Regions from separate parts of the Homo sapiens genome. Here all the other regions are linked to region 3. The links are contacts of gene promoters, found by promoter capture Hi-C in blood cells and fetal thymus (Javierre and others, 2016). All regions are on one chromosome and are shown on one strand. The core of a region is centred on a gene start or on the middle of the fragment in contact, and the rest is flanking DNA. Distances in the headings are between cores, read along the strand shown. Region 1 has its middle 43 kb from the start of LANCL2. Region 2 overlaps LANCL2 (LanC like glutathione S-transferase 2). Region 3 holds the start of MRPS17 (mitochondrial ribosomal protein S17). Region 4 has its middle 23 kb from the start of ELDR. Region 5 overlaps LANCL2 (LanC like glutathione S-transferase 2). Region 6 has its middle 25 kb from the start of LANCL2. Region 7 has its middle 2.5 kb from the start of ELDR.

What was found. The method cuts DNA at HindIII sites, captures the fragments that hold promoters and counts their contacts. A CHiCAGO score of 5 or more calls a contact.
Region 1: a contact is called between a fragment that was not itself captured here and the fragment with the promoter of MRPS17 in region 3, in 1 of 17 cell types (total CD4 T cells). The highest score is 5.4, in total CD4 T cells.
Region 2: a fragment that was not itself captured here is called in contact with the fragment with the promoter of MRPS17 in region 3 in 1 of 17 cell types (naive CD8 T cells); the score reaches 7.2 in naive CD8 T cells.
Region 4: a contact is called between a fragment that was not itself captured here and the fragment with the promoter of MRPS17 in region 3, in 4 of 17 cell types (fetal thymus, naive CD8 T cells, M1 macrophages and 1 more). The highest score is 6.2, in fetal thymus.
Region 5: a fragment that was not itself captured here is called in contact with the fragment with the promoter of MRPS17 in region 3 in 9 of 17 cell types (fetal thymus, naive B cells, naive CD4 T cells and 6 more); the score reaches 8.9 in fetal thymus.
Region 6: a fragment that was not itself captured here is called in contact with the fragment with the promoter of MRPS17 in region 3 in 1 of 17 cell types (naive CD8 T cells); the score reaches 5.8 in naive CD8 T cells.
Region 7: a fragment that was not itself captured here is called in contact with the fragment with the promoter of MRPS17 in region 3 in 1 of 17 cell types (naive CD8 T cells); the score reaches 5.4 in naive CD8 T cells.

The regions. Positions count from the first base shown.
Region 1 is chr7:55,320,195-55,324,064 of GRCh38, reverse strand. No RefSeq gene overlaps it. Among named protein-coding and RNA genes, the nearest start is that of LANCL2, 43 kb to the left of the region's middle. The HindIII fragment of the contact is 3,444 bases long and covers 1-3,254 here.
Region 2 is chr7:55,399,474-55,403,481 of GRCh38, reverse strand. LANCL2 (LanC like glutathione S-transferase 2) reads right to left here. Exons shown (of 9, transcript NM_018697.4): 4 at 3,378-3,525; 5 at 2,162-2,308. Among named protein-coding and RNA genes, the nearest start is that of LANCL2, 36 kb to the right of the region's middle. RefSeq lists an enhancer at 61-1,048. The HindIII fragment of the contact is 5,332 bases long and covers 1-4,008 here.
Region 3 is chr7:55,950,114-55,953,690 of GRCh38, reverse strand. MRPS17 (mitochondrial ribosomal protein S17) reads right to left here and starts at 1,814. Exons shown (of 3, transcript NM_015969.3): 1 at 1,761-1,814; 2 at 373-512. The coding sequence starts at 495. RefSeq lists an enhancer at 1,702-1,761. The HindIII fragment of the contact is 16,512 bases long and covers 1-3,577 here.
Region 4 is chr7:55,277,160-55,280,748 of GRCh38, reverse strand. No RefSeq gene overlaps it. Among named protein-coding and RNA genes, the nearest start is that of ELDR, 23 kb to the right of the region's middle. The HindIII fragment of the contact is 8,247 bases long and covers 1-3,589 here.
Region 5 is chr7:55,415,511-55,419,560 of GRCh38, reverse strand. All of the region lies in intron 6 of LANCL2 (LanC like glutathione S-transferase 2), which reads right to left. Among named protein-coding and RNA genes, the nearest start is that of LANCL2, 52 kb to the right of the region's middle. The HindIII fragment of the contact is 4,751 bases long and covers 1-4,050 here.
Region 6 is chr7:55,338,758-55,342,306 of GRCh38, reverse strand. No RefSeq gene overlaps it. Among named protein-coding and RNA genes, the nearest start is that of LANCL2, 25 kb to the left of the region's middle. The HindIII fragment of the contact is 2,821 bases long and covers 633-3,453 here.
Region 7 is chr7:55,256,357-55,259,976 of GRCh38, reverse strand. It overlaps the pseudogene CALM1P2. Among named protein-coding and RNA genes, the nearest start is that of ELDR, 2.5 kb to the right of the region's middle. The HindIII fragment of the contact is 3,514 bases long and covers 1-3,282 here.

The DNA.
Region 1 (3,870 bases), core at 283-2,782, 630 kb after region 3:
AGGCCGAGGCAGGCGGATCACCTGAGGTCAGAAGTTGGATAGCAGGCTGGCCAACATGGTGAAACCCCATCTCTACTAAAAATACAAAAAAAAAAAAAGAAAAAAAATGCTGAGCATCGTGGCGGATGCCTGTAATCCCAGCTACTCGGGAGGCTGAGGCAGGAGAATTGCTTGAACCCAGGAGGCAGAGGTTGCAGTGAGCCGAGATCGCAAGATGCTGTCTCAAAAAACAAAAACAAACAAACAAAAAACTTAATTACTATTGGAGAATGCTAGTGAATCAACTCGTTTTTTTGAAAAGTGGCACGTTAAAAAGTGGTACATAAATGAAAGAATCAAACCTTTAACTTAACTTCGTTCTGTGTACTACAGCAATGGGCAACCCAGACAGCAAAAGAGAACATTTTCTTTTTGTGGATGTATGTCAGCTAATAGATGAAAAATGAGGCCAGGCACGGTGGCTCACTCCTATGATCCCAACACTTTGGGAGGCTGAGGTAGGTGGGTCACCTGAGGTCAGGAGTTCGAGACCAGCCTGGACAACATGGTAAAACCCTGTCCCTACTAAAAATACAAAAATTAGCTGGGTGTGGTGGCACATGTACCTGTAATCCCAGCTACTTGGGAGGCTGAGGTGGGAGAATCGCCTGAACCTGGGAAGCGGAGTTTGTAGTGAACTGAGATCATGCCACTGCACGCCAGCCTGGGCGACAGAGAAAGAAAAAGGAAAGACTGGATTAGAATGTTACCTTTTCATGACCAGTAATGCCAGTAATGAATTAAGATAGCTAGGCTTTGGATATTAATGGTAGATAACTTCATATATATATATATATATAGAGAGAGAGAGAGAGAGAGAGAGAGAAAGAGAAAGAGAGAGTCCTACATTATATGTTCCTCCTGGAAGTACACAGCAACACCTATGAAGAAGTTTGCAAAAAGGTGGATCAAGTCTTCAATTACCAATTTGCAGAAAATAACAGAAGACAGAGAAATATGTTAAATGACACCTCAGTGATTCAATCAGATAAATCCATACTAAGGTGAACATGACACCATGAAAGACTTGGTTTCTTCAATAAGTAAATGTCAAAGAAAAACAATATGAAGGGGAACCTTATAGATTTAATAGACATATTAACCAATCTGAACATGTGAACCTTATTTGGACCCTAATTCAAACAAATTTAAAAATATTTATGACATTTATAGATAATTGGTCACCTAAATACTGATTGGATATTTGATGCTACTGAGGAAATTAATTCTTTCTAAGGTGTGATATTGGTAACATGACTACATTGTAAAAAAGTGCCCTTATCTTTTTATTTTATTTTATTTTTTAATGCTTTAAAAATTTATTTACTTATTTATTGTAAGTTCAGAGGTACATGTGTAGGATGTGCAAGTTCATACATAGGTAAACATGTGCCATGGTGGTTTGCTGCACAGATCATCCCATCGCCTAGGTATTAAGCCTGGCATCCATTAGCTATTCTTCCTGATGCTCTCCCTCCTCCCACCCCCCACTCTCCAACAGGCTTCAGTGTGTGTTTTTCCCCTCCATGTATCCATGTGTTCTCATCATTCAGCTCCCACTTATAAGTAAGAACATGGGGTATTTGATTTTCTGTTCCTGCATTAGTTGGCTGAGGATAATGGCCTCCAGCTCCAGTCATATCCCTGCAAAGGACATGATCTCATTCCTTTTAATGGCTGCATAGTATTCCATGGTATATATGTACCACATTTTTTTTAATCCAGTCTATCATTGATGGGTATTTGGGTTGATTCCATGTCTTTGCTATTGTGAATAGTGCTGCAATAAACATACATATGTCTTTATAGTAAAATGATTTATATTTCTTTGGGTATATACCCAGTAATGGGATTATTGGGTCAAATGGTATTTCTGTCTCTAGGTCTTTGAGGAATCACCACACTGTCTTCCACATAGGTTGAAATAATTTACATGCCACCAAGAGTGTAAAAGCATCCCTTTTTCTCTACAACCTTGTCAGTATCTGTGTTTTTTTTTTTTTTTTTGGCTTTTTAATAATAGCCATTTTGGCTGGTGTGAGATGGTATCTCGTTGTGGTTTTGATTTTCATTTCTTGAATTATCAGTGATGTTGAGCTTTTTTTTATGTTTGTTGGCCGCATGAATATCTTCTTTTAAGAAGTGTCTGTTCATGTCCTTTGCCCACTTTGTAATGGAGCTGTTTGTTTTTTTCTTATACGTTTGTTTAAGTTCCTTGTAGACTCTGAATATTAGACCTTTGTCAGATGGATAGATTGCAAAAATTTTCTCCCACTCTGTAGGTTGTCTGTTCACTCTGATGATAGTTTCTTTTGCTGTGCAGAAGCTCTTTAGTTTAATTAGATCCCATTTGTCAATTTTTGCTTTCATTTAATTGCATTTGGCATTTTTGTCATGAAATCTTTGCCTGTGCCTATGTCCCAAATGGTATTGCCTAGATTTTCTTCTAGGATTTTTATAGTCTTGGGTTTTGCACGTAAGTCTTTAATCCATCTTGAGTTAATTTTTGTATATAGTGTAAGGAAGGGATCCAGTTTCAATTTTCTGCATATGGCTAGCCAATTCTGCCAGCACCACTTACTGAATAGGGAATCCTTTCCCCATTGCTTGTTTTTGTCAGGTTTGTTGAAGATCAGCTGGTTGTAGGTATGTGGTCTTATTTCTGGGTTCTCTATTCTGTTCCATTGGTCTATGTGTCTGTTCTTGTACCAGTACCATGCTGTTTTGGTTACTGGAGACTTGTAGTGTAGTTTGAAGTCAGGTAGTGTGATGCCTCCAGCTTTGTTCTTTTTGCTTAGGATTGTCTTCACTATTCAGGCTCTTTTTTTTTAGGTCCATATGGATTTTAAAATAGTTTTCTTCTAATTCTGTGAAGAATGTCAATGGTAGTTTAATGGGGATAGCATTGAATCTATAAATTGCTTTGGGCAGTATGGCCATTTTCACCATATTGATTCTTCCTATCCATGAACATGGAATGTTTTTCCATTTGTTTGTGTCCTCTCTGATTTCTTTGAGCAGTGGTTTGTAGTTCTCCTTGAAGAGATCCTTCACTTCCCTTGTTAGCTGTATTCCTAGGTATTTTATTTTTTTTGTCAAAAGTGCCCTTAATCTTTCAGAGTTCATACTAAACCGTTTCTGGATGAAGTGACATAATGGTTGGGATTTGCTTTAAGACAGTATGGAAGAGGGTAGAATGAGTGATGAAATAAGCTTGGCTATGGGTTGCTAATTGTAGTTCAGTGATGGGTGCGTGAGGGCTCACTATACTCTTTTCTCTATTTGTGTTTAAGCTTTTTTTTTTTTTTTTTTTGAGATGGAGTCTCACTCTGTCACCCAGGCTGGAGTGCAGTGGCATGATCTCAACTCACTGCAACCTCTGCCTCCTGCCTCAGCCTCGCGAGTAGCTGGGATTACAGGTGCCCACCACCAAACCCAGGTAATTTTTGTATTTTTAGTAGAGATGACGTTTCACCATGTTGGCCAGGCTAGTCCCAAACTCCTCACCTCAGGTGATCCACCCGTCTTGGCCTCCCAAAGTGCTGGGATTACAGGTGTGAGCCACTGCACCCAGCATGTTTAAGCTTTTTAATAATCCTTATTTGAAATGGGAAATGGAAAGCATTTGATAGGGATCTTTTTTTTGAGACGGAGCCTTGCTGTGTGTCACCCAGGCTGGAGTGCAGTGGCGGAATTGTGGCTCGCTGCAATCTCCACCTCCAAAGTTCACATGATTCTCCTGCCTCAGCCTCCTGAGTAGCTGGGACTACAGGTGTGGGCCACCACCCCTAGCTAGTTTTTGTATTTTTAGTAGAGATGGGGTTTCACCAT
Region 2 (4,008 bases), core at 566-3,065, 550 kb after region 3:
GCTCCTCCTCTCCCTCTCCCTCCTCTCCCTCTCCCTCTCCCTCTCTTTCCACGGTCTCCCCCTGATGCCGAGCCAAAGCTGGACTGTACTGCTGCCATCTCGGCTCACTGCAACCTCCCTGCCTGATTCTCCTGCCTCAGCCTGCCGAGTGCCTGCGATTGCAGGCGCGCGCCGCCATGCCTGACTGGTTTTCGTATTTTTTTGGTGGAGACGGGGTTTCGCTGTGTTGGCCAGGCTGGTCTCCAGCTCCTAACCGCGAGTGATCCGCCAGCCTCGGCCTCCCGAGGTGCCGGGATGGCAGACGGAGTCGCGTTCACTCACTCAGTGTTCAATGGTGCCCAGGCTGGAGTGCAGTGGCGTGATCTCGGCTCGCTACAACCTCCACCTCCCAGCTGCCTGCCTTGGCCCCCCAAAGTGCCGAGATTGCAGCCTCTGCCCGGCCGCCACCCCGTCTGGGAAGTGAGGAGCGTCTCTGCCTGGCCGCCCATCGTCTGGGATGTGAGGAGCCTCTCTGCCTGGCTGCCCAGTCTGGAAAGTGAGGAGCATCTCTGCCCAGCCGCCATCCCATCTAGGAAGTGAGGAGCGTCTCTGCCAGGCCGCCCATCGTCTGAGATGTGGGGAGCGCCTCTGCCCTGCCGCCCCGTCTGGGATGTGAGGAGCGTCTCTGCCCGGCCGCCCCGTCTGAGAAGTGAGGAGACCCTCCGCCCGGCAACCGCCCCGTCTGAGAAGTGAGGAGCGTCTCCGCCCGGCAGCCACCCCGTCTGGGAGGGAGGTGGGGGTCAGCCCCCCGCCCGGCCAGCCGCCCCGTCCGGAAGGGAGGTGGGGGGGTTAGCCCCCCGCCCAGCCAGCCGCCCCATCCGGGAGGGAGGTGGGGGGGTCATCCCCCGCCTGGCCAGCCGCCCCGTCCGGGAAGGATGTGGGGGGGTCAGCCCCCCGCCCGGCAAGCCGCCCCATCCGGGAGGTGGGGGGCGCCTCTGCCCGGCCGCCCCTACTGGGAGGAGAGGAGCCCCTCTGCCCGGCCAGCCGCCCCGTCCGGGAGGGAGGTGGTGGGGTCAGCCCCCCGCCCGGCCAGCCGCCCCGTCCGGGAGGTGAGGGGCGCCTCTGCCTGGCCGCCCCTACTGGGAAGTAAGGAGCCCCTCTGCCCGGCCAGCCGCCCCGTCCGGGGAGGGAGGCGGGGAGGTCAGCCCCCCGCCCGGCCAGCCGCCCCGTCCGGGAGGGAGGCGGGGGGGTCAGCCCCCCGCCCGGCCAGCCGCCCCGTCCGGGAGGTGAGGGGCGCCTCTGCCTGGCCGCCCCTACTGGGAAGTGAGGAGCCCCTCTGCCCGGCCAGCCGCCCCGTCCGGGAGGTGAGGGGCGCCTCTGCCCGGCCGCCCCTACTGGGAAGTGAGGAGCCCCTCTGCCCGGCCACCACCCCGTCTGGGAGGTGTACTCAACAGCTCATTGAGAACGGGCCATGATGACAATGGCGGTTTTGTGGAATAGAAAGGGGGGAAAGGTGGGGAAAAGATTGAGAAATCGGATGGTTGCCATGTCTGTGTAGAAAGAGGTAGACATGGGAGACTTTTCATTTTGTTCTGTACTAAGAAAAATTCTTCTGCCTTGGGATCCTGTTGATCTGTGACCTTACCCCCAACCCTGTGCTCTCTGAAACATGTGCTGTGTCCACTCAGGGTTAAATGGATTAAGGGTGGTGCAAGATGTGCTTTGTTAAACAAGATGCTTGAAGGCAGCATGCTCGTTAAGAGTCATCACCACTCCCTAATCTCAAGTACCCAGGGACACAAACACTGCAGAGGGCCGCAGGGTCCTCTGCCTAGGAAAACCAGAGACCTTTGTTCACTTATCTGCTGACCTTCCCTCCACTACTGTCCTGTGACCCTGCCAAATCCCCCTCTGCGAGAAACACCCAAGAATGATCAAAAAAAAAAAAAAAAGAAAATTGGAAAAAAAAAAAAAAAAAAAAAAAAAAGACTCCATACCAAATGTACTCAGGAACTCACTGGACTCTTAGAAATCCACTGCCTGTGGTTTATGTGGCAGAGTTACGCATCAGCGATTCAAAGTAGGGTATTTCAATCCAGACTGCTTTGTTTATATGCAGGATTCATTTCCCATTTCATGTTTGATCAAATATACTGTAGTGTGTAAGAGTATTCTTACCTACCTGCATTAACATATAGTAAATTCCAGCCATGCCATGGGCTGCTCCAACGTACTGCTTCCGGTGCCACTGGTACAACAGCGGGCAGCGCTCCGTTTTTCTTTCTTCCCTTGACAAAGTCTTACCCGATTCAATAATAGCATTGACTACCTACAGAGATAACAAGACAGCATAAATCTAAAACTGTATATGTACCCTGTTGTAGTCTAATTAACAGTATGTCATATATATATGACATATATAGAGAGAGAGGCAGAAGCCTTAATCTAAAAGTCTTTAAGCAGTTAGCAGCTAATATAGTTATATTTATTTTATAAATTAATAAATGCAGGCAAAAAGAAATCAGGAGCCAATGTCAGAGTAGGAAAAGATACTGTCTAAGAAATAAAAAATTCTTTGCATAAAAAGTCAACGAAAAATCTAGAAAAACTTCTTATAAAACTGTTTTGGATTTCTTAGTTGCTTCGTAGCTGCAGTATTTTTCCCAAAAGAGCAGCACATACACCTATCAGGAAAGGCTGGAGGAACTGGCTTTATTTATAAAAGGCTAATGATATGAGGTCTGCTGTGGCATGAAGGATTTCAGTTAGATCAACAGAATATCATGTCTGGGATGACTGTTTCCTCACGTCTATCTCCTCTCATCCTTTTTGGGAAAGTATTCCAAGTTTTAGCTGGGCATCTGGCTCCCTAGTTAGAGACAGCTGAACACAGACACTTGATGAAGTTCTGGCACTGGGATGGGAGCAGAAGTAAAGAGGGCAACTTGGAGACTGAGTCCCTAACAAGGAAGCTGCGTTGCCTCCACCTCCTCTTTTCCCTTCATAGGCTGAGGGGCTAAACTAGCCTTGGTCCTGCAAATAAGGGTATGCCCCTAGGATAAGGCAGAATGAGACAGAAGAAGCTGGTCCCCACTCATACCAGCCTGAAATGCTTACCAGCTGAGACATCTCACGAAAGATAAATAAACATTCTAACTTTCTGAAGCTGCTGCTGTTTAGCTCCAGTAAAAACTGATAAATTAATACAAGATGAAAGAGAGTACAGATTTTTTTTGTTAATGTTCCTAGAAAAAAGCAGGGACTATTTCTTACTTTTGATGAGTTGCTTTAAAAAAGTAATGCTACCTAGAAGTAAAGTCCAGCTGTTAATACAACTCAATGCTAGCAAATAGGTTTGAATGGTAGAGACGCCCATAGTTACCCATACCCCATAGTACCTCTTTAATAGCTGACTCACACACGGTGCCTGGACCTATCTCTGTGTTCAGGTACAGTAAGGCATACAGATAACCTGCCCGTCCATAAAGCAGCTCATCAGGAAGGTCTGATTCTTGGCAGACAACCGATCTCTGGAGCTGCAAAAGTCTAACCAATAAGAAAAATTAATTTTTTCCCAGTGGAAGTCTAAAGTACTTCTTCCTGAAACACTAACCCTGTTGCTTTAGGAATTACCTATTATTTATTTTACATTTAAAACAATTATTTTTAAAAATACTCCCAAATCCAGAACACAACAAAAACGTCTCCAGTTTACTAGTCCCCTTTTGAATGTCAAAATTAAAAACAAAACATCTTTCTGTTAATTTCTACCTTTACATCTATTTTAAACCATAAAATTTTATTTTGAAATCCAGAAGTAAAAGAAAGTGATTTAAAATTTAAATAAAAATGGTACTGCAGGCCGGGCACGGTGGCTCACGCCTATAATCCCAGCACTTTGGGAGGCCGAGGTAGGTGGATCACCTGAGGTCAGGAGTTCAAGACCAGCCTGACCAACATGGTGAAACCCCGTCTCTACTAAAAATGCAAAACTAGCTGGGTGTGGTGGCACATGCTTGTAATCCCAGC
Region 3 (3,577 bases), core at 565-3,064:
ACCACTATGCCCAGCTAATTTTTGTATTTTTAGTAGAGACGGGGTTTCACCACGTTGGCCAGACTGGTCTCGAACTCCTGATCTCAGGTGATCCAACCGCATCGGCCTCCCAAAGTGCTGGGATTACAGGTGTGAGCCACCTCATCCGGCCAGTACTTTGCATACAGAATGACTACAGCAGTTAGAGTGGATTGACATTAACTGTTTTCTTGGAATGTGTAAACCGTGTTATACCTACAGACCAGCAAAATGCCTGGCTCAAAGCAGATGAGAGACAAGACATCTTTACTGAGAGATAAATGTTTTTTTGCTTAGGACCCAGGACATGGTGGTGATTTACCAAAGCCACCCGGAAACAAGAATGTTTCTCACCTTTAATAAATAGGGATCCAGAACAAGCCTGGTCACTCTCACTTTAGCAGTCTTTTGCATTTTTGTCCCAATCACCTTCCCCACAATCCATCTGGCATGGACGGATGAGCGAACTACGGACATTACGTGGCTTTGGTCACCTGAAAAGCAAATTCCAAAGTCTCATATTCTGGTGGTTATGATGCCACATGAATTTTGTCACAAGAACTGTCCAGGTTAGTCCAGAAACAGTTTTTTTCTTTTTCGTTCCCCCCTCCACCCAGAAACAGTTTTGTTTTGTTTTTTTTTAGATGTAGTCTCTCTCTGTCGCCCAGGCTGGAGTGCGGTGGTGCGATCTTGGCTCACTGCAAACGCCGCCTCCTGGGTTCACGCCATTCTCCTGCCTCAGCCTCCCGAGCAGCTGGGACTACAGGCGCCCGCCACAACGCCCGGCTAATTTTTTTGTATTTTTAGTAGAGATGGAGTTTCACCGTGTTAGCCAGGATGGTCTTGATCTCCTGACCTCGTGATCCGCCCGCCTCGGCCTCCCAGAGTGCTAGGATTACAGGCGTGAGCCACCGCGCCCGGCCATATGTATTTTTCTTTAGATGAAGTTTAGTTCTTTCGCCCAGTCTGGAGTGAAGTGGCGCGATCTCGGCTCACTGCAACCTCCGCCTCCCGGGTTCAAGCGATTCTTCTCCCTCAGCCTCCCGAGTAGCCGGGACTACAGGCCCGCACCACCACGCCGAGCTAATTTTTGTATTTTTAGTAAAGACAGAGTTTCACCATGTTGGCCAGACTGGTCTCGAACTCCTGACCTCAGGTGATCCGCCCGCCTCAAGCCTCCCAAAGTGCTGGGATTAAGAGGCGTGAGCCACCGCGCCCGGCTTGAATCACCATTTCAGAGATGCTTACACGTTCCCCACTACCCAACCTCTCATCTTTACAGCGCTTACAAAGCGGTAACTTTAACTTCGCCAAGCCTCACGTTCCCCTTCTGCAAAATGGGCAGGCCTATTTCGCAGGAGTGCTTTGAGAATTTGACCCACAGAACGCTCAATACCACGGACAAACGCTGGACGTTACTGGTCCCTTATCTCTCTCCACCCCGCTGGGTCGCCTCTCCCCACAGGCTCAGTGCCCAGGTAGCACTCGGCGGGGCCGCCGCGGTGTCCCCCTCCCCGGCCCAGCGACGGATGACTTGGGCTGCTTTTGAGATCAGTTCACAAGCCATTCCACCAGGCTTCGGAAAGGTTGGGGTGATTCGTGCCCTCGCCCCAGACAACCCCGAGGTCAGACGAAGCGATTCGCTCTCAGGGCTCTCACGCGAGGGTGCCTTGGGTCCCCAGCAAATCCTCCCCCGGCAGCAATACCCCGGAGCCTGCCCTCACCTCCACCACGAGACTCACCTCCGCCAAGACTATGCAGCCACCTGCCCCGGGGAGCGCCGGTCGCAGCGGGATGGCGTCACGCCGTACGCATTGGCTCAGTCCCACACTACCCCTCTCGTAGGCCGTGCATCTCCTTAGCCGTGGGCGGAGTTAAAGGCAGGACCCCGCCCACTCTCCCTTAAAGGGACCCGCGGCGGTGGCGGGGTCGGGGGCGCTGACCTCTGGTTTCCTAACGCGCGCAGCTAGTGGACAGTGGCGCAGGAGGTTTCGGACTTTTCTTTCATTCTTTTGTTTTGTTTCTTTTTTTTTTTTTTTTTTTTGAGACGGAGTCTCGCTCTGTCGCCCAGGCTGGTGTGCAGTGGCGCGATCTCTGCTCACTGCAACCTCTGCCTCCCGGGTTCAAGCGATTCTTCTGCCTCAACCTCCCAAGTAGCTGGGATTACAGGCGTGCACCACCATGCCCAGCTAATTTTTGTATTTTTAGTAGAGACAGGGTTTCACATGTTGGCCAGGCTGGTCTCGAACTCCTGGCCTTAAGTGATCCAACCACTTTGGCCTTTCAAAGTGTTGGAATTACAGGCGTGAGCCACCGTGCCTGGCCTAAAAGTGTTTTTTTTTTTTTTTTTTTTGAGACAGGGTCTCACTCTTGTTGCCCAGGCTGGAGTGCAGTGGCATGATCTTGACTCACTGCAACCTCTGCCTCCTGGGTTTAAGGGATTCTCCTGCCTCAGCCTCCTGAGTAGCTGGGACTACAGGCATCTGGCACCACGTCCAGCTAATTTTTTTTATTTTTAGTAGAGACGGGATTTCACCATGTTGGCCAGGCTGTTCTTGAACTCTTGGCCTCAAGTGATCCACCTATTTCGGACTCCCAAAGTTCTGGGATTACAGGCATGAGCCACTGTGCCTGGCTGGTCCAGATTTACCTATACTTTCCCTGACCAGTTATTGTATCAGAAGTTTTTCAAACGAAAAATATCAGTGGGGAGTGGTACTTAGCAACAAAGCTCTGAGTGCTAGGTGAGCAACTTGCTACTGGGATTTTCCTGCCTGTAGGCTATTTCAGCAGATGTAGCTATCGATACATTGAAACATACACACACGCACACACACACCTACCTTTAAACAGCAGTGGGTTTCTTTCTTTTTTGGGACGGAGGCTGTCTCTGTCGCCCAGGCTGGAGTGCACTGGCGCGATCTCGGCTCACTGCAAGCTCCGCCTCCCGGGTTCACGCCATTCTCCTGCCTCAGCCTTCCGAGTAGCTGGGACTACAGGCGCCTGCCACCAGGCCGGCTAATTTTTTGTATTTTTTTTAGTGGAGACGGGGTTTCACCGTGTAAGCCAGGATGGTCTCGATCTCCTGACCTCGTGATCCGCCCGTCTCGGCTTCCCAAAGTGCTGGGATTACAGGCATGAGCCACCAGTGGGTTTCTTCTTTTGCTTCACCAGTTCCGTATTTTTATCTCCTTTCTTCCACAGTTAGAACTCTGGTCCCTACCCCGACAACATCAATGATTAATGCTAAATCCTATAGTATACACTATATGCTTTTGGAGTTGTACTAACAATATCCCGACTAAAAACAAACTTTCTAAGTGATGCGTGAGATTATTTTTTGTGGTTCTTTTTGTCCTTAGAGTGTACAATGACAGCACTGTGTTCAACATTTCTTGGGATTCTTTTTTTTTCTTCTGTGTGGTTGTAACAATATTCTATACAATTAGATTTTTTTTTTTTTTTCAGACGGAGTCTCGCTCACAATCTCGGCTCACTGCAAGCTCTGCCTCCTGGGTTTACGCCATTCTCCTGCCTCAGCATCCCGGGTGGCTGGGAC
Region 4 (3,589 bases), core at 580-3,079, 670 kb after region 3:
GACTGGGTTTTGCCATGTTGTCCAGGCTGGTCTCAAACTCCTGAGCTCAAACAATCTGCCTGCCTTGGCCTCCCAAACATATATTCTTGTTGACTTATTCACTTCTAATCTTACAACAAATTCCTACATATAAAGTGATCATATGACATTTTGAGGGCTTTTGATGAACACTGCTGAGTTGCCTTTCCCAAGGACTTTCCTACCTGTGGGGGATAAGGGGTGGGGGTGAGGCAGGGGAGGCTCCTAAAATCTTGCCAGGCAATGGCTACAGCTTCTGAGCCTCCCCTGGAGAGGATCATTCTGTAAGGGCCTCTCAGGGGTGGATCTGTCTGAGGCACTTGGAGAGGATCATTCTGTAAGGGCCTCTCAGGGGTGGATCTGTCTGAGGCACTTGGAGAGGAAATCAACAGCCCCATGTCAAGTTCATTGCTTCACATCTTTCCTCTTGGGGCTTTCCTTTCTTCCTCACCCGGGCTGAGCTTTCTGGGTCTGGGTCTGCAGGAGGGGGTTGGTGGGGTGGGAATGACCCACTTCTTCCCATCTCAGGGAGGTCTGACCTCCCTGGGCAGCACAGGAAGAAGGCAAGCCTGCCTGGAACCCCCAATAATTAGGAACCACTGCCATCTAGTGTCGGCATTGCTGTGAAGATTTAAATATTAAAACCCACTCCAAGCCCTGAAGAGCACCGCCTTCCCCATGGGCACCCCTCAGGGACCCTACAGGCTACAGCAGTGCAGGCCTGAGCTAGAAAATGCTCATTAGGAGAATTAAACATCTGGGGAAGGAATATGAAAATCTAATTTAGAATGGCTTGGGACTGCCAGAGAGGAAGTGGGGAGTCCAGAGAGAAGACTGAAGAGAAATTTTCTTGAAAGATAGATCCCATTAATTAGAGGGTGGCAGCAAATCTAGCGTTAAGGAAGAAACAAATATCTGGGGAAAACACTTCTTGGGATGCCTAGGAGGTGTACGGAATCTCCCATGAGCCTCAAGACGGACCCGAGGCTTGCAGAGTTAAAAGAGCCCTCCCAGCTCACTCAGGCCACTTGGGAAGAGCCATTGGTGCTGCTGTCCCCAGGACTCTGCTCTGAGACCTGCCCTGCATTCCAGCCTGGGCCCTGCTCTGAGACGCAGCCTGGGTTCTTCTCTGAGATCTGCCCCATGTTCCAGCCTGAGCCCTGCTCCAAGATCTGCCCCGTATTCTAGCCTGGGCCCTGCTCTGAGACCCACCCTGTGTTCCAGCCTGGGCCCAGATCCGAGATCCAGCCTGGGTTCTTCTCTGAGACCTGCCCTGCGTTCCAGCCTGGGTCCTGCTCTGAGACCTGCCCTGTATTCCAGCCTGGGTTCTTCTTGGAGACCTGCTCTGTGTTCCAGCCTGGGCCCTGCTCTGAGACCTGCCCTGTATCCCAGGCAGTGTTCTTCTCTGAGACCCGCCCTGTGTTCTCTACTGGGTTCTGTCTCTCTGACTCAAAATGGCGGTGGTAGTGCAGTTTCTTGGGCGGCGGGGGAAGAGGTTAGAGCTGTTCAGCCCTCGGGCTGCTGACACCACTGTGGGCTACAGGGGCAGCTTTACTCCGGGGATTCAAACCCCATTTCAGCCACCTTTTTATTTGTTGTGGAAACTTAGGTAATTTCTTAAACCTCTCAAAGACTCAGTGTAATAGGGTGAATAGTGACTCTCAAAATCCATCTCCACCCAGGACCTCAGAATGTGACAAATTTCTGTATTTGGAAATAAGGTCTTTGCAGATATAATTAGTTGAGTTCATCCTGGATTTGGGTGGGTCTTCAAATGTGATTTATAAGATGACAGAAAGAGACGCAGAGACACACAGAGGGGAAGCCCGTGTGCAGGAGGGGCTGGAGCGATGCGTCCACAAGCCGAGGAGCCGAGGGATTGCTGGGAGCCACCGGAATCTCAGAAGAGGCAAGGGAGGATTCTTCCTGGGAACCTTGAGAGGGGGCATGGCCCTGCTGATGCCTTGATTTGGAGCTCTTGGTCTCCAGAACCCTGACAGAATACATGTCTGCTGTTTTAAGCCATGGGTTTATGGTAGTTTGTTAGAGCAGCGGTGGAAACAAATACACCTAGTTTCCTGAGAAGCAGAATGGGGATAGCACCACCTCGGAGGTGCTGGCGATGAAGCCACGCATTATTTCATGAATGACTGGGAAGTCACCTCCCATCGCTGGGCCACAACGGCTAGATGGTGGAAGGCCCTCACTTTCTGCCAGGTGCATGGTAACCACTTAACAAACGTTAGCAGTCATCACTTGGGCTGGTTCTTTGCTTTTGAGGGTCTGCATGGAGACAGCCTGGTCCTGGGGACTTCCTCCCCTTCCATCTTGGGTAGCATCCCTGTAGCCCTTCCACTCCTCACCCGGTTAGCAAATCCCTCAGGCCAACACCTCTCTGGCACCGGGGCACCTTGATGGCCCTTTCGTCCATTCCTCAGTGCACTGCTGCCCTGGGGAACGTGGCCTCCTTTCAGCTCCTCAACCACCCCTGAGGTCCCAGGGCACCCCCTCCCTGGGGCTCCTCCAAATGCTGCCTTCCCATCTCTCCTGAAGGGCTGGTGGACATTCTACCTGCATTATAGACTCTGGCTGGCTAGAGGGGACCCTGGGAGCAGTGCCCCATCAGTATTTCAGTGAGTAGCTGACACCCACCACGTGGCCAGGACCCGGCCACAGAGGGACTGGAGCAGCCCTGGAGGTTAGGCTGCGTTCCATTCCCACTGAGCCCTGTCGTCCACATCTGAAATGAATCCCAGTGTCTCAGCCACAGCCAACCCCCTCACAGACACCCACACTGTCCCCTCAGAGTGGAAGTCAACTCCAATACCTGCTTCCAGACAGTCTCAGCCTCTGCCCCCAGCTCCCATCTCTGTCACCAGGTGAACACCTTGCCCACACAGTGTCATCTGTTTCCTGCAGGCAGAGCAATACCAGACATAGGATAGATGTCTTGGAGTCCAGAGTCTTCTCCGTGGGTTTCTGAGGCTGCCACGGAAACAGGCATTGGGAGCTGAGTGAGTCAGGGTATAACATGTTTACGCAGCACCTCCCATGTGCCAGGCATAGTGCTATGTTATGGGATTTTAAAAATAAGTGAGAATCTACTCTGTTGCTTTGCTGGTGAGACTGCCAAGTTGACCTCCATCTCTCCTTTCTGTGTGAAAAGTTCTAGGAGCTATAATTTTAGAAACTCAATGGATTACAAAATAATTTTACCACTGACCATCTATTAAATACCTGGAAAACTTCACAGCTTCAGGCTCACTGGCATGAGTCTTTCTGTATCCAAGAGGTGGAGTTTATATGTCCTTTTTAGTTCAGGTGGTTTTTAAACATGTCTGAGAATTCTTTGACACTCCTTCTATCAAGTGTTGGGGGGGTCTATGTCTCCTCCCCTGTGACTTGGTTAGCTGGGGCTGCCAGAAAAAAGTACCAAGGATGGAGTGGCTTCAACAATAGAAATTTCTCGCAGTTTTGGAGGGTGAAAGTCAGAAAGTTCTGGAGGGTGAAAGTCACACCAGCATGGTCAGGTTCTGGCGTGGGCCCTGCCTGGCTTGCAGACAGTGGTTTC
Region 5 (4,050 bases), core at 491-2,990, 530 kb after region 3:
GCGTGGTACCTCGTGTCTGTAATCGCGACTACATGGAAGGCTGCAGCAGGAGAATTGCCTGAACCCGGGAGGCGGAGGTTGCAGTGAGCCAAGATCGTGCCACTGCACTCCAGCCTGGGAGAAACAGCAAGATTCTATCTCCAAAAAAAAAAAAAAAAAAGGAAAAGAACAAAAGAGAAACTATCACTTCAGACCTTACTAAACATTAAAAAAAAGAGGTATGAATAACATTATGCCAATAAATTTGACAACTTAGATAAAATGAGAAAACATATTGAAAAACACAATTAACAAAACTGATGCAAAATGATTCTATTAATGAAATTGAATTCATAATAAAAAATTTTCCCACAAACATTTAAGCAAGTAATAACACCAATTGTACACAAAATCTTTCTGAAAATAAGAGAAAACACTTTCCAACTCATGTACGTGACCAGCATAATCCTGATACCTGATTCCTAATAAAAACAAAGATTTTATAGAAAAAGAAAATATGTACTAAGAAACATAAAAATCTTTAACAAAATATTAGCAGACCAAATGTAGCAATATTAATAAAAAGAAAAGGATAAAAATCATGCCCAAGTGAGGTTTATACTAGGAATGCAAGGTTGACTCAACTTTTAAAAACCAATCAATGTAAAATCACCATATTAATAAAACAAAAGAGGAAAACCATAGGAGCGTTTGAATAAATCCAGGAAAAAAAAATGACAAAATTCAACATCCCTTCATGATAACCAGTAATAAAAGGAAACTTCTTCAATCTGATAAAAGCCATCTAAGAAAAACAGTTAAAAGTATATTTGATGGGGAAATATTTAATATTTTTTTCTATGATTGTGAATAAAGCAAAGATGTCCACTCTGACCACTTCTATTCAATATTATACTATAGCTCCTAACCAATGTAATAAAAGAGGTAAAGGAAATAAAAGGCACAGAGGTTGGAAAGGAAGAAGAAAACTCACAGATACAATATGTGTACACAGAAAATCCTAAGTAATGTATAAAAAGCTACCAGAACTGATACGTGAATTTAGCACAGAATATAAAGTCAATATACAAAAAGCAGCTGTGGCCAGTTACAGTGGCTCAAGCCTGTAATCCCAGCACTTTGGGAGGCCGAGGTGGGTAGAACCCTTGAACTTGGGAGTTTGAGACCAGCCTGGTCAATATGGCGAAACCCCATCTCTACAAAAAAATACAAAAATTAGCCAGGCATGGTGGTGCACACCTGTAATCCCAGCTACTCAGCTAAGTCAGGAGGATATCTTGAGCCTGGGGAGGTAGAGGCTGCAGTGAGCCGTGATCACACCACTGCACTTCAGCCTGGGTAACAGAGTGAGACTCTATGTCTCCAAAAAAAAAAACGCAATTGTATTTCTATATACTGGCAATACATAATTGGAAAATGTAAATAAATAACATATCTAGGAATAAATTTAACAGAAGATGTGTTAAGACCTGTAGAGCAAAAACTATAAAGCACTATTGACAGAAATTAAAGAAAATATAAATGGAGAGATATACCACATTTGCGAGCAGAAGGACTCAACATTATTAAGATGTCAGTTCTGGCCAGGCACAGTGGCTCATGCCTGTAATCCTAGCACTTTGGGAGGCCAAGGCGGGCAGATCACTTGAGCTCAGGAGTTTGAGACCAGCCTGGCGAACATGGTGAAACCCCCGTCTCTACTAAAAATACAAAAACTAGCCGGGTATGGTGGTGGGCACCTGTAATCCCAGCTACTCAGGAGGCTGAGGCAGGAGAATTGCTTGAACCTGGGAGGCGGAGGTTGCAGTGAGCCAAGATCACACCTACTCCAGCCTGGGCGACCAAGCAAGACTCCATCTCAAAAAAAAAGATGTCAGTTAGTTCTACCCAAGTGGATCTAGAGATTCAATGATTCAATGCACTCTGACTCATAACTCCAATAGGCTCCATTTTTAGAAGCTGACAAATGGACTCTAAAACTTATATGAAAATACAAAGGACTTGGAATATTCAAAGTGATTCTGAAAAAGAACAAAGTGAGGTCTTAAGTTACCTGATCTCAAAACTTACAATAAATGCAGAATAAGAAAAACAACGTGGTAATATCATGTAGGTAAACAGGCCAAAGTAACTGAATAGAGTCCAGAAACAGACCCAGGCTTATTAGGTCATTTGATTTTTGATAGAGGAACCAAAATCAATCAAATGGGAAAAATAAATGTCTTTTCCACAAAAGGTATGGGAACAATCAGATATCCCTATGGTTAAAAAAAAACACCTCAGGCTGGGCACGGTGGCTCACGCCTGTAATCCCAGCACTTTGGGAGGCCGAGGCGGGCAGATCATGAGGTTAGGAGATAGAGACCATCCCGGCTAACACGGTGAAACCCCATCTCTACTAAAAATACAAAAAATTAGCCAGGCGTGGTGACGGGCGCCTGTAGTCCCAGCTACTCGGGAGGCTGAAGCAGGACAATGGTGTGAACCTGGGAGGCGGAGCTTGTAGTGAGCAGAGATCGTGCCACTGCACTCCAGCCTGGGCGACAGAGTGAGACTCTGTCTCCAAAAAAAAAAAAAAAAAAAAAAAAAAACCACCTCGTTTGTTACCTCATGTAATATACAAAACTTAATTTGAGATAAATCACAGGCCTAAAGGTAAAATCTAAAACAATAAAGATTAAAGGAGAGTATTATCTATATAACCTGAGGGTAGATAAGGTTTCTTAGACAAAACACAGACAGTAATTATCATAAAAAGAAAACATTGAAAAATAGATTTTATCAAAATTTAAAACTCTATTAGTCAAAAGATACCATAAAGAATATGATTAGGCAAACTACAGACAGGGAGAAATTATTTGTACGATATATATCTGACAGAGGGACTTTAACCAGAACATATAAAGAATTCTTTCAAAAATAGCAAAAAGACAAAAATAAAATAAAATAAAACAATGTAGGTAAAACACACGAAGAGACAGGCTGGGCACAGTGGCTCACACCTATAATTCCAGCACTTTGGGAGACCAAGACAGGAAGATTGCTTGAGTCCACGAGTTCGAAACCAGCCTGGGCAAAAAACAAGACCCCTACAAAAATAAAAAGATTTAGCCAGGTGTGGTGGCACGTGCCTGTAGTCCCCAGCTACTTGGAAGGTTGAAGTGGGAGGATCACCTGAGCCCTGAAGGTCGAGGCTACAGTGAGCCAAGATCCACCACTGCACTCCAGCCTGGGTGACAGTGCAAGACCCTGTCTCAAAAAATAATAATAATAAGAAGAAGATATGAAGAGACAGTCAACAAAGGAAGATACACAATTGGCCCATGAGCACATGCAACATTAATCAACCCTGGTCAATCAGGAAGATACAAATAAAACCACAATGAAATACCCACCAAAATAATTAAAATTAAAAAGACTTTCAACATCAAGTGTTGGCAGATGCAGAACAACCAGAACTTGTGGAAAAAGTGGCAATTTCTAAAACTAAACATACACCTACCCTCCGATCCAGTAATTCTACTCCTAGATATTAACCCAAAAGAAATGAAGACATGTGTCTCTAGACAGACCTGTGCAAGAATGTTCATAGCAGCTTGTTCCTAATAGCCAAAACCTGGAAACCGATGAAAAACAATGATAAACTGGCCGGACACAGTGGCTCATGCCCGTAATCCCAGCAGTTTTGGAGGCCAAGGCAGGCAGATCACCTAAGGTCAGGAGTTCAAGACTAGCCTGGGCAACATGGTGAAACCCCGTCTCTACTAAAAATACAAAAAATTAGCCAGGCATGGTGACGTGTGCCTGTAATCCCAGCTACTTGGGAGGCTAACACACAAGAACCACCTGAACCCAGGAGGCAAAGGTTGTAGTGAGCCAAAACTGCGCCACTGCACACTCCAGCCTGGGAGACAGAGCGACACTGTGTCTCAAAAAAAAGAAAGAAAAACAATGATAAACTATGGTACATTTATTTAAGTGATGCTTAAAATTAAGAAGGTATCAGAATCTTGAGTAAGGAGGAAAAAAAGTATAGCTTAAAAAAACTTT
Region 6 (3,549 bases), core at 794-3,293, 610 kb after region 3:
TAGAAATTATTTAGGTTGATAGGGTGCAAGAGTCCCCGGCAAAAACTTTCCTTTTAACAAAAAGCAGCTCAGAAATTACTTTCTTTGGCTGGGCGCAGTGGCTCACGCCTGTAATCCCAGCACTTTGGGATGCCGAGGCGGGCGGATCACGAGGTGAGGAGATCAAGACCATCCTGGCTAACACGATGAAACCCCGTCTCTACTAAAATTAAAAAAAACTTAGCGGGGCGTGGTGGCGGGCGCCTGTAGTCCCAGTTACTCGGGAGGCTGAGGCAGGAGAATGGCGTGAACCCGGGAGGCGGAGCTTGCAGTGAGCCAAGATTGCGCCACTGCACTCCAGCCTGGGCGACAGAGCCAGACTCCGTCTCAAAAAAAAAAAAAAAAAAAAAAAAAAAGAAATTACTTTCTTTTTAACCACACACAGTTTAAAGAAATTACTTTTTTTCTAACAAAGAGCAGTCTGGAAGATTGGGCTATAAAACATAAATAAGCACTTCGACAACAGAGGGGGAGCTTCCTGAATAATCACCAAACTCCACATAAATACAATGAGTCCCAGTAAAAACAGTGGACCTTAATGAGCATATTCCTTTCCCTATTTTGGGCACACTAAGATAGGGAAGCAGAAAGCTTGCATGGATAAAGGCTAGCAGCTTGCCAATAGACTTGGGGGCTGGGTGTGTTCAACATGGAGGCTCCATTCCCCCCCCCCCCGCCTTTTTTTTGTTTGTTACCACAAAAACTAGGCAACGGCCAGGCGCCGTGGCTCATGCCTGTAATCCCAGCACTTTGGGAGGTCGAGGCAGGTGGATCACCTGAGGTTGGGAGTTTAAGACCAGCCTGACCAACATGGAGAAAGCCCGTCTCTACTAAAAATACAAAATTAGCCGGGCGTGGTGGCACTTGCCTGTAATCCCAGCTACTCAGGAGGCTGAGGCAGGAGAATTGCTTGAACCCGGGAGGCGGAGGTTGCGATGAGCCTAGATCGTGCCATTGCACTTCATCGTGGGCAACAAGAGCGAAACTGTGTCTCAAAAAAACAAAACAAAAACCAGGCAACATGGCACCAGCCATGTTAAAAAACCTATGTGCATAATAAAATATTGGGGTGGGGCAGCCAACTTCTTCACGGACTATGCAAATGGCACACCTGGTTCAACCAATCTTTCATGCCCTATGTAAATTAAACACGCCTTCTCAAGCTCATCTATAAAATCTGCATTTCACCATGGAAGTGGCAACACATTTCTCCAGGACCTCTCTCTCTGCAGCAGGGAGAGCTTTTTTTCTTTGGCCTGTTAAACTTTCACTCTAAATCTCAGTCATAGGGTCTTTACAGCTGCGATTGAGCCAAAGATCCTGAGAGAAGGAGACGACCAGAGGGGCCCTGAATGCCCTAAATGCAATCACGTGTCCTTATAAGAGGGAGCCGGAAGGAGATTTAATACAGAAGAGGAGGTGGCAATGTGGCCAAGGAAGCAGAGGTTGAGTGGCCACAAGACAAGGGCTGCTGGCAGCTCCCAGAAGCTCCTGGAGGTGAGGACTCTCTCTTAAAGCCTCTGGACAACTGTGGCCCTGCTGGGACCCTGGTTAGGGCCCAGTGATACTGACTAAGCATTTCTGGCCTCCAGAACTGTGAGAAAATAAATCTCCATTGTTTTAAGCAGCTAAGGTTGTAGTAATATGTTATAGCAGATAATAGAAAGCATACACCATGCAATGGTGTGTAAATAATAAATAGGCCAGGCATGGTGGCTCACGGCTGTATCCCCAGCCCTTCGGGAGGCAGAGGTGGGTGGATCAGCAGGTCAGGAGATTGAGACCATCCTGGCTAACATGGTGAAACCCCATCTCTACTAAAAATACAAAAAATTAGCCAGGTGTGGTGGTGCACGCCTGTAGTCCCAGCTACTTGGGAGGCTGAGGCAGGAGAATCGCTTGAACCCGGGAGGCAGAGGTTGCAGTGATCTGAGATCGTACCACTGCACTGCAGCCTGGGTGACAGAGCGAGACTCCATCTCAAAAAAAAAAAAAATTAAAATTAAAAAATAAAAATAAAAAACAACTAAAAATAAATGAAGTACTCTACACACAGCACAGATGAATCTGAAAACAGTCACATTGAATGAAAGAAGGGAGAGTCAAAAGAGAACCTACCATATGATTCCAGTCATGCAAGGTTCGAAGTAGTCCAAACTCATCTTTGTTATTAGAAGTCAGGATAGTGGTCACCTTCTAGAGAGGAGCAGTGACTGGGAGGGGCATGAGGGGTGTCTGGGGCTTTGGTAACATTCAGTCATTTATGTGCAGGGCTGTGCTCACTTTGTGATGGTTCGTTGGACTGTGATCTTACCATTTATGCACTTTCTGTATGTGTTTCCCTTCAACAAAAATTTATTTAAAAAGAAAAGCCTGAAGGAAATCTGCTGCAGTCATATTTGATGCAATCGCTGTAGTAGGAACAGGGCTACCATCTGTTCCTTTATTACCCTCTGCCCTCCCCTTCTGGGCCTACTCTTGCTTGGATTGTTTCAGTTTGGTGCTGGTTGGTGGCTTCTCTGTTATGCTGTGTATATGTAGATGGCGTATGTGTTTTGGTGGGAGGGACAGTGTTCAGCTTCCCCCTGACCTACCCTTTATCACAGAGAATCCCCTCAGAAAGGGGCTGCTGTGTCTCCCTTTAGGCACACAGCAATCCACATCTACAACATCTCTTCAGTGTGGGGCTTGCCCTGTCTGGCCCTGTGCCTTCCTCCAGCATCTGCTCTTCACACTGCGGTGGCTTATGCCCTCAGAGCTTCCAAGACCTGGGACAGATGAAGAAGCAAATCCCTCCTGCTCTTGGGCACACCCCACAGCGGGCCCTTCTCATCATGCTGGCCTGGGTTCCTCTAGTGAACTTCCCGCTTGCAGAAAGGATCATCCAGGTAGAGAGAGGCCAGTCCTTCTTCCAGGCACCTACAGTCTCCATAAATGATTCCTCTAGCTGCCCTCTCCTCTCTTGGCTTTGAGTTAGTGGGTGAGAGAAGCACCTCTTTCTTTTTCATAGAAGGAGAAAAGAGAAGTCTCTTACTACCAAACTGGGCAAAACCACAGGATAACTCAGTGACCCCCCACCCCCACCCTTCCTCATTCTACTCCTTCTGGTGATGCAGGTGGAGGGGTGTGGTTGAGCCTCTTTCTTCAATCCAAGGCTTTGGGGCTGCTATCTTTCTCTAATTGTAGTGGGGGTACTGAGTGTCTTTCCGTCCACGGCTTTGGACTTTGTCACTAACTCTGGGACACATGGAAAAGCCCCGCTCAATGATTTGTCATCCCAAGGTGCCTACACCAATCTCTGCAGACAGAAGAATACTCTAGAGATGGACCCAAACAAAGCATGCAGACAAGCATCCCTGGTCTGAAGTATGCAAGGATGCCTGGCAGGTTGGCTCTAACTGTATTTTCTAAGCTTGTATACTTTTTTTTTTTTTTTTTTTTTGAGTCGGAGTCTCTCTCTTTTGCCCAGGCTGGAGTGCAGTGGTGCGATCTAGGCTCACTGCAACCTCC
Region 7 (3,620 bases), core at 276-2,775, 690 kb after region 3:
GATAGTGGCAAAGGTTACATCAGTGCAGCAGAACTACGTCATGTCATGACAAACTTAGGAGAAAAACTAATAGATGAAGAAGTAGATGAAATGATGACAGAAGCAGATATTGATGGAGACAGACAAGTTGATTATGAAGAATTAATACAGATGATGACTGCAAAATGAAGACCTACTTCCAACCCCTTTTCCCTGTTCTAGAAGAATCAAATGGAATCTTTTACTTACCTTTTGCAAAAAAAAAAAAAAAAGAAAAAAGAAAAAAGTTTCTAATTTTTTGTTTCTGTTTCTTTCTTTCTTTTTTTTTCTTAAAGACAGAATCTTGCTCTGTCACCCAGGCTGGAGTGCATTGGTGTAATCTTGGCTTACTGCAACCTTTGCTTCCTGAGTTCAAGCAATTCTCATACCTCAGCCTCCCAATTAGCTGGGATTACAGGCGTGAGCCACTACTTTCAGCTAATCTTTGTGTATTTTAGTAGAGACGGGGTTTTGCTATGTTGGTGAGGCTGGTCTCAAACTCCTGGAGTCAAGTGATATGCCCACCTCAGCTTCCTAAAATGCTGGGATTACAGGCGTGAGCCACCATGCCCAACAGATTCATTCTGTTTCTGTATAGCAAAACTGAATGTCAAAAGTACCTTCTATCCAAACACACAAAATCTGCATGTATTTGTTGGTGGTCCTGTCCCCTAAAGACCAAGCTACACATCAGTTTTACAATATAAGTACATGTACTACCTTAATAATAAGGACTCCTCAAAGTTCCATTTAGTCATGATTAATACACTGTTTGGGCCGGCCAGTTTTTCATGCATGCAGCCTGACGACTGAGAGCAGTCAGCCATTTGTATTTAAAAAAAAAAAAAAAAAAAGGAGAAAACAAATCCAAAACCTATTCAAATGGATTCTGGTTCAATTTGTTTAGTATAAATTGTCATAACTGGTTTACTGAAAACGAACATTTAAAATTGGTTTATCTTAGGATGATGTGCAGAAAAATGGGGTGAAGGATAAACTGTTGAGACGTAGCCCCACTAGCGGGATGGTCATCTTGTACTTCTGTGTGCTGTGACCCATGGTGACGATGACATACCCTGGTGGCATGCCCACGTATGTTGATTTAGCGTTGTCTGCATTGTTCTAGAGTGAAACGGCTGTCACTGTTCACACACATTTTTAACAAAAAACCTTTACCAAGGGAGCATCTTTGGACTCTGCTTTTAAAACCTTCTGAACCATGACTTTGAGCCAGCAGAGTAAGCTGTGGCTGTGGGCTTCAGCACAGTCATCAACATTACCGTTCAACAAATTACAGTTTACTTCCATTCCGAGTTGTAAATGCTAGTTTTTTTTCCCCAATAAAAAGATGATTAACTTAAAAAGAAAATTCTAAGGAATCTACAAAATGACCACTAGAGCTAATAAAAAGTTGCAGTCTATATGGTTATTATGCAAAAATCGATGTAAATTTAGTATGCTAACAGTACAGAATTAGAAAAGGAAATTTTAAAAATTATATTTACTGTAAGAACAGAAACATGCAATGTTTTGCAATAAATCAACAAAAATGTGTAAGACCTCTATACTGAAAACTACACAATGGTGGTGAAAATATTGAAGAAAACTTAAGTAAATGGAAATATATACCATGTTTATGGCTTATAAGAGTCACTATTATTAAGATAGCAGTTCTTCCCAAATAGGTGTATACATTCCGTGAAAGCCCAGCAGGACTTTTTGTGGGAATTGACAAAATGATTTTTTAAAATCTATATGGAAATGCAAAGCACCTAGAATCTGCAAAGCCATCTTGAAAAAGGGGAAAAAAAAGTTGGCAGGCTTACATTGCCAGCTTTCAAAACTTATAGAAAGCCGGCCGGGCGCGGTGGCTCACACCTGTAATCCCAGCACTTTGGGAGGCCAAGGAGGGTGGATCACGAGGTCAGGAGATCGAGACCATCCTGGCTAACGTGGTGAAACCCCGTCTCTACTAAAAATACAAAAAATTAGCCAGGCGTGGTGGCGAGCGCCTGTAGTCCCAGCTACTCAGGAGGCTGAGGCAGGAGAATGGTGTGAACCCGGGAGGCAGAGCTTGCAGTGAGTGGAGATCGCGCCACTGCACTCCAGCCTGGGCGACAGAGCGAAACTCTGTCTCAAAAACAAACAAACAAAAAACTTATAGAAAGCCAATAAAGCTGCAGTGATCAAGACAATGTGGCACAGGCATAAGGATCAACAAACAGATAAAAGGCATAGAAAGCCCAGAACTGGGCCTGCTATTACATGACTATACCTAATTTGGGAACAGTGGTTATCCTTGTGATTATGGATATAATTACAGATATGATTATACTCAACTTGGGAACAGTTTTTTTTTTTTTTTTTTTTGCCTATATTAAGTGTTGTCAGGTCAAGGAGGTATGTACTGGTTGAAAAAAGATCCTGATTTGTAGGAAAAGACACAGCACATGGTGATGTTTTAGAGAGTTAAAATTTGGAGCCATTCTCCATATTCATTGGATAGAATCATCATCCCTCCTCTGCCTTTCAGCCTATATAATCAGTAAGAATTATATGGCAGATAAAAATCTGGCATTGAAGGATCAATCAACTATTAGACAATTGATCTCATTTTCTCATGTCGTCTATCTACATCTCTCATGTCATCTGGCATATCATATGTTCTAGGTCAGTCCTGAGTTCAACTAGTCTGTCCTGTGATTTTCACTATTATTTACACTTGTTAGGTCACTATCGTGGGGTTCAGAATATTGGTGTGAGGTGGTGGCATGGGTGCTTTTTTTGGAGCAGTTGTGGGGTGGAATCCCTCCTGCATGACCTGAGGCCACAAGAAACCCCTTCCACCACAGGTGTATCACACGTAATAAACCCTCGTGTGCCTTGTTACATGATAAGCACTTTATATACCTTAGACATTTTAACCTAAATCAACCCTAAAAGGCAAGGTTATTTTTTCTACTAAATTTCCAACAACTAGGTGAACTAAAAGTAGGTTGAAAGACCAATTCTTATGAAAGAATGATTGTCAAAAAGAAAAAGATAAATTCTTCTGAAGAGACGAGAGACATAGGAGCAACTCAGACAGGAAACTTTTAATGGGTTTTAATCCAGGGTTTACAATGTTTTGAATCTGCAATTCTGAAATCCAAAGCAGATCTGGAAATTGAATGTTTTTGGCAACAAATTGGGTGGCAAAATCTGAACTATTTGTAGCTCTGTGTGCTGACGAGCATTGTGAGTGCCCTAGAGGGGCATCAAGCTTTTGCCCACAAAATCCTTTCTTTCCTTGGAGCATCTCAGTGGAGTTGTGTTTTGAGAAATAGTGCCTGACATAAGTTCGGTATTGCTACGTAAGACCTCTTTATTGTTTTTCTGCATAACTTTGGATTTTCCAATTCAGTTTACTTTGACCCACTCTTTACAGTTTAAGCATGCCAGGTGGTAACTCGATGGCTTCGCATCTTAATGATCGCATCTATGTGCATAATTCTTTGGGGTTCGTGGAGCAGTTTCACATTCATTATCTTGTTTGGTCCTTAGTAAAACTCCTTCTTTATTTTCAGCACTGAAGAAGTGGAGTCTCAGAGGTCACACAGCTG